Regions from separate parts of the Homo sapiens genome. Here regions 1 and 3 are each linked to region 2. Evidence: promoter capture Hi-C in 16 types of primary human blood cells and fetal thymus (Javierre and others, 2016). All regions are on one chromosome and are shown on one strand. The core of a region is centred on a gene start or on the middle of the fragment in contact, and the rest is flanking DNA. Distances in the headings are between cores, read along the strand shown. Region 1 has its middle 370 kb from the start of LINC00348. Region 2 holds the start of DACH1 (dachshund family transcription factor 1). Region 3 overlaps DACH1 (dachshund family transcription factor 1).

The links. Contacts are between HindIII fragments. The CHiCAGO score rates a contact against its expected background, and 5 or more counts as called.
Region 1: a contact is called between a fragment that was not itself captured here and the fragment with the promoter of DACH1 in region 2, in 1 of 17 cell types (M0 macrophages). The highest score is 5.0, in M0 macrophages.
Region 3: a contact is called between a fragment that was not itself captured here and the fragment with the promoter of DACH1 in region 2, in 1 of 17 cell types (endothelial precursors). The highest score is 6.9, in endothelial precursors.

The regions. Positions count from the first base shown.
Region 1 is chr13:71,379,572-71,383,571 of GRCh38, reverse strand. No RefSeq gene overlaps it. Among named protein-coding and RNA genes, the nearest start is that of LINC00348, 370 kb to the right of the region's middle. The HindIII fragment of the contact is 653 bases long and covers 1,235-1,887 here.
Region 2 is chr13:71,865,636-71,870,013 of GRCh38, reverse strand. It overlaps DACH1 (dachshund family transcription factor 1), which reads left to right and starts at 2,810. Exons shown (of 11, transcript NM_080759.6): 1 at 2,810-4,092. The coding sequence starts at 3,245. The HindIII fragment of the contact is 4,223 bases long and covers 2,419-4,378 here.
Region 3 is chr13:71,480,352-71,484,374 of GRCh38, reverse strand. The region is part of intron 7 of DACH1 (dachshund family transcription factor 1); the gene reads left to right. Among named protein-coding and RNA genes, the nearest start is that of DACH1, 380 kb to the left of the region's middle. The HindIII fragment of the contact is 746 bases long and covers 1,253-1,998 here.

The DNA.
Region 1 (4,000 bases), core at 312-2,811, 490 kb after region 2:
TCTGTCAAGTAAAATAAATATATCAACAATTTCAAAAATGAATATTTGATATTTGAGATGGAGTCTATTCAAATTTAAAAATGCTCTTACTGTTAACTTTTTTAACCCCTTCTCAATTCCATCCACCTTATATAGAAAAAGGGGAGTCTAAAATTTTCCTCTCTGAGAAATTTATTAGCCCAAGATAACAGGCCTATCAAGGCAGATATTTGGAAGTCCCTTAAGGAAACAATGAAATCTCCACACACTTACTCCCTGGTAAGGTCTACCAGCCTACAGACTCCTACCATGCACACCTTTTGATGACTAATTTTTACATTGTAAATGTAACAACAGGTCATCATCAGTCACCTGATGCATAAGTTACAGAAAACTTCTATAAAAAAGAGACAAAAGTAAAGTAACAAAAAACCCCACAAAAATCAATTGCAGAAAACACAAACAAAATATTGAGTGAAATTATAATGTATATCCTCATCTAAATAAAGTCCAATACTCATCAATAAAATAGAAATAAGATGCTATAACATTTTAAAAACTAGAAAATAAAAAGCTTTTGGAAATAGAAAAGTAGTAAAATAAAATTTTCCACTGGTATTTTAGGAAAGAAAGTTGATACTTCTACTGGAAATTAGGAGAAAAGAACTAAAAAATGAGAAATCTGAAAGAAATGAAAAGATAATCAGAATATCAATACAGGAGGACTTATTGATTATTAGTAAGTGTTTAAGAATGATAATGAGAAATGCAAAGGAGGAAATTACCAAGAAAATTTTACAAAACAAAACCAAAGAAAAAACACTGAGTTATTTTGAATAATTGGACCCTAAAAAAAGATTTATACTAAGTTATAGACTCTTCAAATCTCAAAATATTAGAGCAAAGAATACAAATCTTTTAAAGAATTCTATATGTGTATATACACACACACTCTATTGTTGTTATTCATGAATTCCATACTTGCAAACTTGCCTAGTCACTAAAATTAATTTACAACTTCAAACCAATACTCGCTGTGCTTTCTTGTCTTTCATAGAAATGCACAAAGTAGAGAGAAATGTGAGTTGCCTAATAAATGTGCATGTTTCCAGCTGGATTGAACAAGGCGATATTCCGACTTCTTACAGCTCTCCTACTGTAAACAAATGTCCTTTTCATGTTCTATTTACTCATGTTTTTTCTCATTTTTGCACTTTTTGTTGGTAATTGTGCTGTTTAAAATGGCACTGAAGCTTTGTACCGACTGCTATAAAGTATTCCCAAGCAAGAGAAGTCTGTGATGTGCCTTAGGGAGAAAATACTTGTGCTAGATATGCTTCATTCGGTCAAGTTATAGTGCTTTTGGCAGTGACTTCGATGTTAATGAATCAACAACATATATTAAATGTTTTTAAACTGTAACACATATGAAACAAGATTATATATTTATCAGTTGATGAAATGTGAGAAAAAATAATTTTTTGTTTTCAGGTACTTAAATTTAATATCTCATTTAATTTAGGGGTGTTTCCTTACATAAAAAAACAGAACCATGAGTTTAAAAAGAAAAAAGAAGGACAAAGGTGCTCACATTTGTCAAAGTCGTATAACTGCATACTTAAAATGGTATATCTTATGGTACATAAATTATCCTTCAATAAGGTTGACTTAAAAAATAAGAATCTATTAACTCCAGGAAATATAGAATCTAGAATAGAACAAAAACAAAGCAAATTCCTAGAATAATGGCAAGTGGGAGTCTTAGCATGAAAGCCTGGCAGCAGGCCTAGAAAAATCTGATCGAATTCGGGAAATAAATTGCAGCTCTAGCAGAGATGTCTTTAAAAAATAAATAACTAAATAAACTGATACAATACCAGATATGTTTGATCACATATGAAAGAAGCTTACATACTGTTGTCTAGTTTTGAGATGCCTTAGTGATAAAAGGTTATCCGAGTAAATTAGAGAATTACTAATTCTGGGAAAGATAAAAAGAACACAAGAAAGCATACACAGTCATATTATGCCACATGGTACAATTATAGGTAGCACTTGTATAGATCAATAATAATGTTAATTTTACAAAAGGAGCAATATAAACTGAGTAAAAGGGCTAAAGGTATATTCGAACGTCTCGTTTGATGTAAGGTAGTTAAAAACGAGGTGAAAAGATAATATATAAGATTTTCAAAAGAAGACATCACAACATCAAAAACATATTATTTTGTAATGTGTAGCCAAACACTAAAATTAACTGCTTCAATGTTAATTCTGTTTCTTTTTTTTTTTTTTTCTTTTTTGAGACAGAGTCTGTCACCCAGGCTGGAATGCAGTGGCAGGAATGTGGCTCACTGCGGTCTCAAGGGATCCTCCTACCTCAAAGGATCCTCCTGCCTCAGCCTCCTGTGTAGCTGAGACCACAGGCATGGGGGTCACATTTGGTTGGCCCAGTGATCTTGAACTCCTGGGCTCAAGTGTTCCTTCTACCTCAGCTTCCCAAAGTGCTGGGATTACAGGCATGAGCCATTGTACCTGGCTAATTCTGTTTCTTAATAGGAAACAAGTTTGGGGAGGGATGGGGTTAGTTCTGGCATATACATATATACATATATAAATTTACAAGATAATGAAATATATAGACTCTTTTATAAGGATGCATATCTTATATTGATAAAAATTAAAATTTAATTTAAACATTAAAAATGTAAAATAATCAGTGGAAATTCAGTATTGGAAATTGAAAGACATATTCTAGAAAAAGATTTATTTGTAATTATAGCATTTATACTATTCACTATCCAAATTTAAATATCTAATACTATATCAGGATAATTTATGATAGTGCTTAGTTTTCTTGAATGTAATTAACAAAATGTAGTGACTGCTTATGTCAGTGAGTCTATTTCTTTATTAAATTTGAAGATTTTTCAAATCTTCACTTTGGCAAGTGAGTCATTCACTTACCAATTATTTTTTCTTCTTATATCACTTTTTGGCAATATTTACCCTATATGGTTTGGCTGTGTCCTCACCCAAGTCTCATCTTGAATTATAGCTCCCCAGATTCCCATGTGTTGTGAGAGGGACCCAGTGGAAGATAATTGAATGATGGGGGCAGTTCCCCCCGAACTGTTCTCATGGTAGTGAATAAGTTTCATGAGCTCTGTTGGTTTTTTAAGGGGAAACCCCTTTTGCCTGGTTCTCATTTCTCTCTTGCCTGACACCATGTAAGACGTGCTTTTTGCCTCTGACATGATAAGCACACAGAACTGTGAGTCCATTAAACCTATTTTACTTTATAAATTACCCAGTCTTGAGTATGTCTTTATCAGGTGTGTGAAAACCAACTAATACATAACCTTTCACTTTAGTCAAAAGAGATTCTAGATTTGTCTCTTTGTCCCTTCCCTCCTATGTGTTAAAAAATTATTGGAAATAATCTTCTTTTTCTGCTTTGTTCCTTGGGCTGCCTCTCCCTCCGGGCTTGTCAAGTCAATATTTTCCTTAAAGCTATTTCAGAACCAAGGAGCAATTGATACTACAGAGTTAAGCTCTTTACCAAGTTCCAAATATTTCATCTATATTGTTTTATATCCTAATTTAAAGAGCCAGATTTTTGAAAACAAGCATAATGTATCTGACTTTTATTGTATTTCTTTACTGAATCTAGCATAGTAGTGGGAATTCAAATCTGCTGCCTGATTAGCTTGTGATGTGGGGATCCTAAGAGTTGGGAGGAAAAAGACAATGACCAAGGATTGTGGTTTTTAAGTTTCCCCTATGTAACATTCAGGGAGAAAACTGTAGGCAGGTTGGATATCTTAAATCTACAAACATCCTGAAATGGGAGAACACAGAAGGATGTTCATGCTTCAGGGGTGAGTTATGCATTTGGGAGTCATTCTTACCTTATTCTTATGAAACATTTTATAACAGGCCTCAGCCCTCACATATTCTTTGAAGTGAGCAATCACATACTTTTGAAACTAATCTGTTGTTCCAATCATCGAGTGTTTTC
Region 2 (4,378 bases), core at 1,561-4,060:
ACAGAACGATTTGCAGGTCTTTGAATTTTAAACAGTCTTATTGATTTCAGCACAATACGTCTTCACAAAACACAGGGAGAATTTTCTAATATCAGTTACAGTACTTTGAGTTTTGCTTATGCAAATTGAGTGAAGGTTGGGGAAGATGAGATGGAGAGGACCTGAAACAAGCGGAGATGTAAAACAATAAACAAGCAAGACAAAAGCTCTAAAAGCTAAAGATGCAATGGAGTGAGAATTCAAAATCTCTAAGTTGATTTATCTGTTGTTGTTAAATAACTGTTTGCCTTACTCATTGGCAACATTTCTCAAAAAGAAAGAAAGAAAAAGAAAAAAAAAGGAAAGAAAAAAGAGATAAAACCTTCAAAATTTTCAAGGCTTTTATTTCCTACATATTTTAATTTGTGCTATATGCCTTTTCTAATCCTATTGTTTGATTGAAGGGGTAAGTGGTGGTTCCCTGAACTGATTTTGAGACCTGAGGTCAGGAGAAGGAAGGCTGGAGAGCTCTTATTCAGGTGGGGGCAAATGTCTCTCAGCCCTGCTTCTGAGTGGAGCACGTGCTCGGAGGCAAAGGTTTCCCTGCAGTAGAAAATTTGGAGTTTGCTTCGAAGCAAGGTGGGATTATGGCTTGGGCTGCTATCATTACCTCCTGTCTGTAGCTTCCGAATGTGTCAGGTATTGGGTGAGTGATAGTTTAAGGAAATGTAAAAAATGAGAATGGTAATGGCAGATGCTCGGCATTTAATTCCCATTCTTCCATTTGTGGGTCTAGAACTTAAAATAATGAGACTATAGTTTAGTCTTTTAAAACCATATCAAAATTTATTAAAGTTAGGCATAGAATTCGAAAATAAAATTAGCTTTTCAGGGCTTAATACTTTCTTCCTCCCCTCCCCTCATTATAATAGTAGTTTGGTATGTCTTAAAAAAGTAATATTTTCTAAAACATGCAAAAATACTTAAGGAAGTGTTTTGATGTATGTGATATATATTGAATTCCTACTTTTACCCATAACAAATTTGAAGACTGAAACATAAATAAAAATTATTTCTGAATGTATTACAATACATTGGTTAACCAGGCCAAACAACTGTTTAAACTTTAGTTGTCCTTGCAGAAGTTCATGGACTTTTCTGCAACAATCGATTTTCTGAATTCTTATCTCCCAGGAAAGCCTCCTGATTTAACTGCTATGTCCCAAAAATTTTAGTATAATCATACACTAATTAGTCCATAGTGTCATATTTCTATTTTTCGGTAGACAGTTCCTGCACTATTTGACACTGCGATTCACAGAGTTCAAAGGCTTAAAATGATATAGAGAAATGTGATCATTTCAACACCAGAATGGCAAAAATTTTATTATAAAATTTCCCAACCCTGTGAACCTGCTACTAACAGTTTATTTTAAAAATCTGTCAAATGCTAAAGCATTGCTTCATATCTTATGAACTTACTGAACATGTGTGGACCGGTTCAAAGGCTAACTAATTGAAGATACTTGGAGACATGAGCAGCAAATAGATTTGACCCATATTCAAATGATATGTTAGTCAAAAATCCTTGAATAAATACTTCAGTGCAACAAGTTAGAAAAGAAAAGAAAAGGAAAGAGGAAGGAAAGGAGGAATAGAGTCAGTCTAAACTCAGCCTCATGTTGTTTTAAGCACAGCTACCCAAGTCTTTACAAGTCAACTAGTGAGCTTTGTTTTTGTTCTTCCCATTATTTACAAAACATATATTTACTGACAAATTGAAAAGGACTTTCCAAAACTACAGCAGCACTTTTCAAACATGAAAAAAAAAAAAAAAAAACTATTGTGTTGTCCAAAAAACACATTAGCAATTGGCTTTGGGTCTTAAAGGACATGAGGATAGTTGGTTACTGTGTAAGACAGGTGAATTAATTATAGAGTTTTGGGTAAGAAAACCCTTTTTCCACTTTCTAAATCTTCAAGGATACCTTATCTCCTTGATAGCTCTAGGTTTAACAGGTATTTCTGACTGGCTTTTGGGGAGACAGTGAAGTTATTCTAAATCATCCACATCAAGGCAAGCATTTCTTTCCACAACCTATTAGGAAATATGGAATTGAATACAGAGCTTTCCATTATTCTTAAGCGATTTCGGACTGACTTTCTTCTCACCACTTGAAAACTGTCCTGGAATTTTCACTATCTTTATATAAATAAATAATTTAGTAGAGAAATAAACAATCAGATGCAAAAGAACATTACGCTTTGCTTACATGTGAATTTTCCTCAAAATAATTTCTGAATAATCGTGAAGTGGGGGCTGTGTTTTCGTTTCTAGCTCATTGCCAAAACGCGTGGAGATGGATCCTAAATCCTGGAAGGAGAGAGCTCGGCGCGCTCAGGCTCCTCTTTAAGTTGGCGGGCGATTGTTTAGAAGCTTTGGAAAAAATTACCAGTCCCCGCGGACGAAATGGAATGTGAGACATGCAATCTAACGGTAGTAGTAGAAGAGAAGTAGATGATCTCCCTCTCCTTTTCCGATCGCCACTTCTGTGTCCCCGGCTTTTCCTCTCCGTCCCTCCCACAGTTTCTTTCCGTATCCTCCCCCTCCCCTCCTCCTTTCCTCGCACGCTCCCTCTCCAGTGTCTCGCGCTCTCGGAGTCTCTGCTCCGAGTTCCTGGTTGGATAATTTGGGTTAATACTAGTGAGTGAGGTTTTTGCGGCTTCAAAGGGTATTTCAAGTTTCCGGAGCTCCTCCCCTCTGCACCGTGTGACAACAACAACTCGTCCAGCCGGCAGCCTGCACTTTTCAGCTCATTTTCTCTCTGTCATTCCCCTCTCAATCTTTGATCAATGTACTTGCCAGGGAGAGCCCAAGTCCTTCAAACCTCCTCCTTTTCACCTTCATCCTTAACTTTGTGCTAGAGCGAGACCCACACAACAACAGCCGACCCTCCCCGCCCCACCCCCACCCCCAAACCAGCCCTCGATCCCAGCCCCCGGAGAGGACTCGCATTTCGACTTGCGGGACACTTTTGTGCGTTCCTCTCCAGAGCGCCTCTCGTGCTCGCCCCTCTTGCGCTCGCTCTTTATTACCTTCACCTCCTTTTCTCCCCCTTCTCTCCCTTTCTCCTTCTCGTTCTCTCCCGGAGTTGTTGTTGCCCCCCTCGCTCCTTCTCCCCCCTTTTTTCCCCTTCCCCTCCCGGGGGTGTGTGGCAACTTTTCCTCTCGCTTCTCCTCCGTCTGTTTCCCCTTATATGTGACCATGGCAGTGCCGGCGGCTTTGATCCCTCCGACCCAGCTGGTCCCCCCTCAACCCCCAATCTCCACGTCTGCTTCCTCCTCTGGCACCACCACCTCCACCTCTTCGGCGACTTCGTCTCCGGCTCCTTCCATCGGACCCCCGGCGTCCTCTGGGCCAACTCTGTTCCGCCCGGAGCCCATCGCTTCGGCGGCGGCGGCGGCGGCCACAGTCACCTCTACCGGCGGCGGCGGCGGCGGCGGCGGCAGCGGAGGCGGCGGCGGCAGCAGCGGCAACGGAGGCGGCGGTGGCGGCGGCGGCGGTGGCAGCAACTGCAACCCCAACCTGGCGGCCGCGAGCAACGGCAGCGGCGGCGGCGGCGGCGGCATCAGCGCTGGCGGCGGCGTCGCTTCCAGCACCCCCATCAACGCCAGCACCGGCAGCAGCAGCAGCAGCAGTAGCAGCAGCAGCAGCAGCAGCAGTAGTAGCAGCAGCAGCAGTAGCAGCAGCAGCTGCGGCCCCCTCCCCGGGAAACCCGTGTACTCAACCCCGTCCCCAGTGGAAAACACCCCTCAGAATAATGAGTGCAAAATGGTGGATCTGAGGGGGGCCAAAGTGGCTTCCTTCACGGTGGAGGGCTGCGAGCTGATCTGCCTGCCCCAGGCTTTCGACCTGTTCCTGAAGCACTTGGTGGGGGGCTTGCATACGGTCTACACCAAGCTGAAGCGGCTGGAGATCACGCCGGTGGTGTGCAATGTGGAACAAGTTCGCATCCTGAGGGGACTGGGCGCCATCCAGCCAGGAGTGAACCGCTGCAAACTCATCTCCAGGAAGGACTTCGAGACCCTCTACAATGACTGCACCAACGCAAGGTGAGTCGGGGGGGATAGCCCCCGCCGCCCGCGCCCCTTCCCACCAGCCTGCTCGCCTGCCCTCGCTCCTTTCCCGGCGCCGCTCGCTCTGCGCGCCCGCGAGCCGCGCGCCCCGGCGAGCGCGGCCCTCTCCTCTCCCTGCTCGGGGCTCGCCAGCCGCGCCCGACCCCCTGAGAAGTTGGCACCTCACCCTGCCCAGACCTCGCTCTTCGGCCCGGTCCTCCCCTTGCCCTCTGGGTCCCGGGGATGGGCTGCTGTGGGATGTGGGAAAGCCGAGCCTCGGGGC
Region 3 (4,023 bases), core at 376-2,875, 380 kb after region 2:
AGAAACATAGGGAGACCCTGCCTCTACAAAAATACAAAAATTAGCTGGGCATGATGGGGCATGCCCACAGTCCCAGCTATTAATATTCATGAGGATGAGGCAGGAGGATGGTTTGATCCCAGGAGTTCAAGGCTACAGTAAGCTATGATGGCACCACTGCACTCCACCCTGGGTGACTGAGTGAGACCCTATCTTAAAAACACATACACACACAAGAAATGGCAGCTCCAGATTGATTCACTATAGCCTAGTAAATGGACATAATCCAACCATGGTATCTAGGAGGAATTATTCTCTACTTCTGTGTTTGTGGGAAGAAAATGAAAAAGAATTAAGTATAAGACTGAACTATAGTCATGCATCACTTAATGCTGGGGATACATTCTGAGAAATGAATCATTGGACAGTCTTAGAGTTGTGCAAACATCATAGAATGCACTTATACAAACCTAGAGGATATTGCCTAGTATATACCTGTCTATACAGTATACCCTATTGCTCCTAGGCTATGTACCTGTATAGCAGATTACTATATTGAATACTGTAGACAACTGTAACACAATAGCAAGTATTTGTGTGTCTAAACATAGAAAAGGTACAGTAAAAATATGATATTATAATCTTATGGGACCACCATCATATATGCTTGCGGACCAAAAAGTTGTTATGGAGGTGAATGACTGTACTCTGATTATCTATCTTCAGTTCTTTACATTTCAATATCATGGCCAATAATTTTACTTTACTTTTCAATATATTTTAAAATAAAATAATAGTTTCCTTATTTACATTAATATATAATTTTAATTATAATTTAATTATAAAATTATAATTATAAAAATTATTGTAATTATAATTTTATTATGTATTCATTTATATTATATTAATATATTATTTATTATAAGGTATTATTTGTTATTTATTATATTAATTTTTATATAAATATAATAATTTTAACTGTAACATTAAATTTAATCATAATTTAATTATTGATACATAATTTAATTATAATATATAATTATATATAATATTAATTAGGAGAAGACTTTGCATAAACCCCAACAAAATAGACGTTGAATTCAAAATATGGGGAAGCTAATATCAAATATATTGGCCCTACATTATATGTTTTTATTTTCAATCGTAATTATATATTATGAGTCTTCTCTTCTTTGTTCCTGTCATACATCGGCGTTGCAGGACAATAATCATAGCATTAAAGAGTATGGTATTATATTTTGTTACAAAAGCTTCTCTGAAAATGTGTCAGTTGGGCCGGGCGCCATGTCTCACGCTGTAATCCCAGCACTTTGGGATGCTGAGGTGGGTGGATCGCCTGAGGTAAGGGGTTTGAAATCATCCTGGCCAACATGACAAAACCCCGTCTCTACTAAAAATACAAAAAAATAAGCCGGGTATGGTGGCACATGCCTGTAATCCCAGCTACTTGGGAGGCTGAGGCAGGAGAATCGCTTGAACCTGGGAAGCAGAGGTTGCAGTGAGCCGAGATCGCGCCATTTGCACGCCAGCCTGGGCAACAAGATCGAAACTCCATCTCAAAAAAAAAAAAAAAAAAAAAAACTGTCAGTTGATACTGTACTATTGATTATTTGTTTGTTTTTTGGTCTACAAAAGTTCCTGATTCCAAGGGACATTATTCTTTTTCTCCCTGAAAAGAGACCAGGGAAACATTAAAAGAATAATAAAGAAGACTAAGTAGCTGGACAGTTCTGATCTAGGCACACTCAACTCAGTATTTGGGATTTTCAGTCAGTCTCTTGATTCTTCTGCATCTTGGTTTTCTCATCTTTAAAAGTATTTGGTTAGGATGGTGATTGCTAAAATCCTCTTCAACTAAGGTGTTTTAATTTCATTAGAAGCAACACATTATTGAGAACAAATTTTATCACATGAGTTTCAGTGACACTCGAGAAACCTTAGATATTGTCTGATTCTGAAATAAATTTATGTTAAATACAAACATGGATCAAGTAAGCTTCTCCTCCAGGATCTAGCTAGGTTATTAAGAAATGTTTCTTAGCAGTATTATTTGAAGTCTTCTTATATAGACAGATATTGTACTTTCTAAGCCGTATCAACTGTAGAAACATTGCTAGATACAGTACCCTTTAAAAAAAAAACTCAATCTCTAAAAAATGATGAAAATAATTTACAAATTAGATTATTTTAGAAAACAATGACATTTATGTAGTATAACAACCATTATGTCTCACTCAGAAAAAAAATTTGGGGTCAATCAACTATTGTCTCTCACCATTGCTGTGGCATAAACTTAAAATGTATTTCATTAGACTTGTCATTAACCGACTTCAGTATCCTAAGAACCATCCTCCCCTTGGAGAAAAAATCATGCTTTAAACCTTCTATCGTTTTTTGTCATTCACATTTTTGCCACAGCATTTTCTGGATATTGCATGTCCAAGTGAGATGCAGCATTTAACGTGACCGTTTGCACGTGATCAACCTGGAAATTTTACAGAAGTTACACAAATCTGAAAGTATTATTATCATTGATGGCTACAATGGTGTCCTAAAGATTTGTAGATGTTCTGAACACTACATCCTATTGCTTTTCCCAGCCCCCTGCTGCACTGAAATTTAATCCGTTTTCTGTATTTTTTGAAGCAGAGCTGTCACTGGCGGTAACATACTTTTGCATATGCATCAGTTTGGCTCTAGTACAGATTTTTGTTCACACTGGACTCCTACTGATATGCACTGATACAAAGTCTAAAAATTACATTTAATTTTATATAGCTTATAAGTAGTCCCAGAGAGTATTGGATCCTAAAAGCTAATATTTTTCAGACATAATCAGCAGGAATAGGTAATGTATTACCATTAGTCACATTAGCAGCAATTGTAACAAAAGGAAACAGTAAACATAAATGCTCTCAGCAACTTCATTCTTTACAACGAATATTAATATAAAATTACACAAATTAGAGTTGCAGTTTAACATTATTCAACATGTTTATTCATAATGATTGTTTCACATTTAAATAACACCAAAATATTGTGTTTTGTCAGCCAAGGACAATAATAGTTTAATAGTAATTTATTTTAAACAGCTACTGATAATACAACCAATCAACACATTAAGTGGTGCCAACATTGGCATCTTGCTAAATAATCTCTAGACATTGCACACAGAGTACATCTTTCAAAGATAAGTCAACAAGAGCAATCAGAGCAGAAAATTAGAATTTGGTATCTTAGAATTAAAATACAGCTAAAGTTTTAATTGGGGTGATCTAAAAGGGCACTTGATGTAATGATCTCTTTCATTTGTTACTAATTGTTTGTTCCTGACGAAGAAGAAGCCTACACAGGAATGTTGTTGAATTGAGTTAAGATGGCAGTTTCCTTAGCAGCTATGTTTTACTGTTAAACAAAAGAGTGGGGAGGGGCAACCTGCCACGGAGAAATCTTTCTTCAGCTTGTTTCATATCACAAGAATTATACCAGGAGATTCAGGGTCAGGTATAGCAAATATGGAATAATTTGTATGTGGTCAAAAGAGAATAAAATTGGCTTACAGCAATGCTATAAACTATATTGGTAGACTGAAGTAAAACTATCTGTCTATTGCGCTTACAAGTCAAGCTGGAGTAGAAATTCCTGATTCGAACTGCTCACAATGTCTTCTTGCAAGGGAGTCACATCCTAGAGTACATCTACAAATGACATCAACTTTCATCTCATTTTAACTTCAGTTGAAAATTTCAGTCTCTGACACTCACAGACCAAGGCAAAATATCTTCTACTTCAAAAACTCATTTTGTATTGCTGAATTGAAGAGAAGTTTTAGCTCTAATTTTTACTAGTAACTGTTTCAAAGTATCTTAGGAGAGAAAACAGAGAATGCTTTTTATATGTTTAACATATTTCCATATCTAATTTTCAAGAACCTTAAAATACTGCTAATTTTTAAAAGCATACAGTATGTCAAAATATATACATATTTATATATTCACCATTAGTTGTATGAATAAACTTTGC